Linked DNA regions of Homo sapiens: region 2 is linked to region 1. Evidence: promoter capture Hi-C in 16 types of primary human blood cells and fetal thymus (Javierre and others, 2016). All regions are on one chromosome and are shown on one strand. The core of a region is centred on a gene start or on the middle of the fragment in contact, and the rest is flanking DNA. Distances in the headings are between cores, read along the strand shown. Region 1 holds the start of TMEM67 (transmembrane protein 67). Region 2 has its middle 38 kb from the start of PDP1.

Region 1 (2,700 bases), core at 134-2,633:
ATCAATAATCATATAAACTGTTGACATGGTAGGTCTAAGACAACTCCACTTGCATCAGTCAAAAGAATATACACATCCCAAATTGCACACATCCCAGACTGCTCTATATATGCCTTATTCATCTAATTTTCTTCATAACCGAGTTATTCTACGAGTAAAAACAAAAACTTAAATTTTTACAGCTTTGTGGTTTTTGGATTTCAGATTTTAAAAGAAATACATTTCTGTTTTCTCCAAGTTTGCATGAAATTTCGCTGATCTCCCAAAACTTACTCTAGTAAAAATAAAATTAGCATAGTAATTTTAAAGTCTGTGGGGAAACATTAAACATTAAATTATATTTTGAAAAATAAAGATATTTAACTTACTACTTTTTACAGGTAAGTTATTTTAAAATAAATTATGCGCACCATGTTTTCTGGGCACTTTTTACAAATAATAGCAGGTCCTCCATTATTAGAGATCATCTGAAATCCTGGTAGACATACACATGAAGTTCCTAAAAAAAAAAAAAAAAAAAAAAAAGCCAATTTTATCCTTGATAAATAAAAATAAAGTTCCCAGATAGTGAAACTTTTAATAAGTCTGAAGATCTTGAGAAGCAGTATAGTGATTAACAGCAGGATTCTGGAGGCAGTACTGCCTGGGTTCAAATCCAGAAATACACTTCTTGAGTTCCAATCGTAGTAATCCTACTCAGTTGCATGACCTTGAACAAGTTACTAAACTCTCTGCCTTGGCTTCCTCTACAATAAAATGGAGAAAAAAAATTGGTACCTACCTCACAGGGTTAGTATGAGTACAAAATTAGTTATTATACGTAGAGGTCTTACACTGGCACACAGCTGGTATTATGCTGCTACCATTTTAAGTGCAAGTATAACTAAACTATTAAACTACTTAACTGCTGCTGGAAATTTTACATTTCTACGTCACTAAACAATATACATGTATTCGGGCCAGGCGCGGTGGCTCACGCCTGTAATCCCAGCACTTTGGGAGGCGGAGGCGGGTGGATCACCTGAGGTCAGAAGTTCGAGACTAGCCTGATCAACATGGTGAAACTCCATTTACGGGGACTAGGGGCCGACCAAGGCGGGAGTGTTACTTTTGCCAGGGCCCACCGCAAACCGTCTTACCTCGGGCATCTTGCCTCTGGTTAGCTCCACAAGGAACACACGAGAGGGCGGAGATATCAAAGTACTGGTTGTTGTCGCACTTCTCCGGCTGCTGGAAAGGGAAAGAGAAGGTCTGGGCCTGTAAGAAGCGAGGGAGGAACAACAGAAGGAACGCGGTCACGGCCCGGGCGGATAAGAGGGACCAAACCGCCATTGCCACCCCAGCCCCACCGCGCGTCGCCATGGTACCGACGCTGGAAGCCTCACAGCCTCCAGCCCCCCATCAGCCTCTGCGGCGGCTTCGCTGAGCTGATTGGACAACCCAAGTCCGGGTACCGGAAGTCACTGCTCGTGTTGCTTGGTTGCTAGGTTACCAACCCTGCGCGAAGTTGGCAGGTCCAGTAAAGAATGGGTTAGAGACCGGTTAACCCTGGAGCCCAGCGATATTTTCAAACGTGTATAGAGTTCCTCTACTTACGATAGGGCTGCCCCCTCCCCGCAATAAACCCATCGTAAGTTGAAAATATCATAATTTGTCGAGTTATAGTTACATCAGAATTTATTCAGACTAGGTAATTTTCACGTTAAAGGAAACATGACTTGTAGTTTAACAATTTGATGTCAAAAAACCCCACTGACTTAAAACCCAGTGAAGGATTACTATAGCTCAAAGACTGAAAAAATAAAAAAACTTTCCTGCCAGGTTTGAGCATAGGAAATCATGTATGCGAGACAAAGTACGAAACGGAAGAAACCATGTTTGCTCATTCTGTTGCCAGCGAAATTTCACAAAGCCCCTGACTCAGTGACTGAACGCAGTCCTCCAGAAGAATGCCCTGAAGACAATAAGTAGGATAGAGCACAAGTTTTCACATCTGTTGCTTGAATCACTTCATTTTTTAAAAAGATACAGTCAGCGATCCTAGCTCTTGCCTCTTCCTGTACGTAAGATAACGTGTGACAGGATTAATGATTATGCCTCTGTAATCTATAACCAGATGTAGTCTCCAAACAAAACTTTGATGAGATTTTGCTCCAACGTAACTTCTGAGCACGTTTAATGTAACTTTTGAGCACATGCAGAACTCCATCCCTTGATGTAGAAACTGGGGGCAGAACAGCTGCTTTGGACCAGTATAACATAAACTCTTTGAAAGACTCTCCAGGGTTGCATTCCTCAGTAAGACTCCGAATAAAACTAACTTTGAGTCTTTAAAAGCCTGATTTTTTTCTTTAGTTGACATGTATATAAAATGAGATCACCTTTACACCTTTTGTGAATAAAGGAATCTAAGCCTGGTGCTGTGGCTCACACCTCTAATCCTAACATTTTGGGAGGCCACAGTGGAAGGATTGTCTGAGCCCAGGAATTCAAGACCAGCCTGGGCAACATAGTGAGACTCCACCTCTACAAATAAAATTTATTTTAATTAGCTGGGTGGGTGGCACATGCCTATGGTCCCGGTTGCTTGGAAGGCTGAGGCGGGAGAACCACTTAAGCCCAGGAGGTCAATGAGCCCAAAGGCTGCAATAAGCTATGATCGTGCCACTGCACTCCAGCCTGGATGTCAGAGACCCTATA
Region 2 (2,700 bases), core at 43-2,542, 200 kb before region 1:
TAGCAGACTCAGAGAACTTGGTTTGAACTCCCTCCCAAAGTGACCAAATAGGAATTTTGTACCCAACTTGTGTGACAGTAAGCAGCTTTCATCTTCCTTACTTTCCCGGCCATTGTAAGAGAGCTGTTGATACAACAAAGAAAAGGATGGCAATTTTGCCTCCGGGCTACAAATGCAGAGCCAGATCATCTTTACTGTGTTCCTACTCTGTGCCAGACAGAAACCAACATATAAAGAAAGGACACCCCATGTTCAAAGTCAGTGACCTCAGCTGGACATGGTGGCTCACACCTGAAATCCCAGCACTTTGGGAGGCTGAGGCGGGTGGATCACCTGAGGTTAGGAGTTTGAGACCAGCCTAGCCAACATGGTGAAACCCCCTCTCTACTAAAAATACAAAAATTATCTGGGCATGGTCATGCAAGCCTGAAATCCCAGCTACCTGGGAGCCTGAGGCAGGAGAATCACTGGAACCCGGGAAGTGGAGGTTGCAGTGAGCCGAGACAACACCACTACACTTCAGCCTGGGTGACAGAGCAAGACTCCATCTCAAAAAAAGAAAAAGAATACAAAAATTAGCCAGGCGTGGTCGCGCACGCCTGTAATCCCAGCTACTCGGGAAGCTGAGACAGGAGAATTGCTTGAACCTGGGAGGCGGAGATTGCAGTGAGCGGAGATCACACCACTGCACTCCAGCCTGGGCGACAGAGCGAGATTCCGAGATTCCGTCTCAAAACAAACAAACAAAAAACCACAAAGTCAGTGACCTCAGAACAAGCCCTGGAGCAGCCACAACAAAGTCAGGAAGCAGCTGTCCCCGTGCCTCCATGAGGGTCTTTGTGTTGCTGCCAGTAGACCAGGTTGGGGAGCTGGACATGGGAGGTGAAGGGCTGGCCTCTTTCTCAAAAAGGGATGCATTACCAAAAAACGTGCTAGAGAAAACCATAATGCAGCAATGATCAAACTCACATGCGGAGGAGGAACAGCATGAGGGGGCGTTGGCGAGGAAAGTACAGCCACTGTCCGTAGAAAGAAGATAACTTGCTAGGAACATAGCACACTTTTACAAGAATTCTTTTACAAACTCTAATTTTTAAACACGCACACCACACACAAACAGTAAGATAAAATCTGAAACCTCAGAAATTTAATGTGACTGAAATACATCTGGACAAAAATCACTTGGGTGTTGCGCTCTTCCTCCATTACCTACGCTGCTAACTGCAGAAACGTGGAAGAGAAGGGAGGGAAGGGGTGTTCATGTCAGATCAGATGCACTAGAGAGGACACAGCCAAAGGAGAAGCAGAGGTGAGAGGGTGGGAGAGGGCAAGACACTGGCATTTACAAGGCGCTGCAGAAGTGTTTCTAGCAGAGGATTTTTTTTTTTTTTTTTTGAGATGAGTCTCACTCTGTCACCCGGGCTGGAGTGCAATGGCACTATCTCGGCTTACTGCAACCTCCACCTCCTGGGTTCAAGCGATTCTCCTGCCTCAGCCTCCCAAGTAGCTGGGATTACAGGCATGCGCCACCATGCCTGGCTAATTTTTATATTTTTAGTACAGACAGGGTTTCACCATGTTGGTGAGGCTGGTCTCGAACTCCCAACCTCAGGTGATCCGCCTACCTCAGCCTCCCAAAGTGCTGGGATTACAAGTGTGAGCCACCACACCCAGCCAAGGCAGAGGATTTAAATATTAACCGTGAATTATGACTTAGAGCCTTTCAAATTTTTAGAGCTCTGAGTAAAACTGAAACGCCTGTTTGAGCAGTGCTTCTTCCAATATGAGCCATCCTGAGACTGGACCATGCAGGCTGTGACTCCATCAGTCTTGTCTAAATGAGATAATGAGGCTCTTATTGCCCTTCTGTGAGCAGGTTAAATTGAGAAAAATGAAATCTTTCCCTTTGACTATTTCAAGTACTTTCTTTACCACCCCAGCCCAATCATGTGCCAACCTCTTCATAATCTACATATTACGGTAGCAGAATACATCGTACTTATTATCACCCATTTAAAATTAAGCATTTGTATGCAAAGCAGTTTTCCAAGAATATAGTAATAAGGAATATAAAGCTGTACCCTAAGGGCTTAATTCCAAAAGAGTTTTAAAGTAGCAGTCAAAAGAGAGATACAGATCACATAGCAAATAAACCAGATGTGCATGTATATCTCATATCTTAAAAATGCTGCAGTTACGACGGGTGCAGTGGATCATGCCTGTAATCCCAACATTTTGGGAGGCTGAGGTGAGTGGATCATTTGAGGTCAGGAGTTTGAGACCAGGCTGGCCAACATGGTGAAACCCTGTGTAAAAGAGTTATTTTGTAAAAATACAAAAATTAGCCGGGCATGGTGGCTCACGCCTGTAATCCCAGCACTTTGGGAGGCCGAGGAGGGCGATGACAAGGTCAGGAGATCGGGACCATCCTGGCTAACACAGTGAAACCCCGTCTCTACAAAAAATACAAAAAATTAGCTGGGTGTGGTGGCATGTGCCTTTAGTCTCATATACTCAGGAGGCTGAGGCAGGAGAATTGCTTGAACCCGGGAGGCAGAGGTTGCAGTGAGCCAAGATCATGCCACTGCACTCTAGCCTGGGTGACAGAGCGAGACTCTGTTTCAAAAAAAAAAAAAAAAAATTAGCTGGGTGTGGTGGGGGGCACCTTTAGTCCCAGCAACTCAAGAGGCCAAGGCAGGA

What was found. The method cuts DNA at HindIII sites, captures the fragments that hold promoters and counts their contacts. A CHiCAGO score of 5 or more calls a contact.
Region 2: a contact is called between a fragment that was not itself captured here and the fragment with the promoter of TMEM67 in region 1, in 1 of 17 cell types (total B cells). The highest score is 5.2, in total B cells.

What each region holds. Positions count from the first base shown.
Region 1 is chr8:93,753,577-93,756,276 of GRCh38, reverse strand. It overlaps TMEM67 (transmembrane protein 67), which reads right to left and starts at 1,383. Exons shown (of 28, transcript NM_153704.6): 1 at 1,140-1,383; 2 at 411-499. The coding sequence starts at 1,362. The HindIII fragment of the contact is 4,875 bases long and covers 1-2,700 here.
Region 2 is chr8:93,953,841-93,956,540 of GRCh38, reverse strand. No RefSeq gene overlaps it. Among named protein-coding and RNA genes, the nearest start is that of PDP1, 38 kb to the right of the region's middle. The HindIII fragment of the contact is 5,212 bases long and covers 1-2,700 here.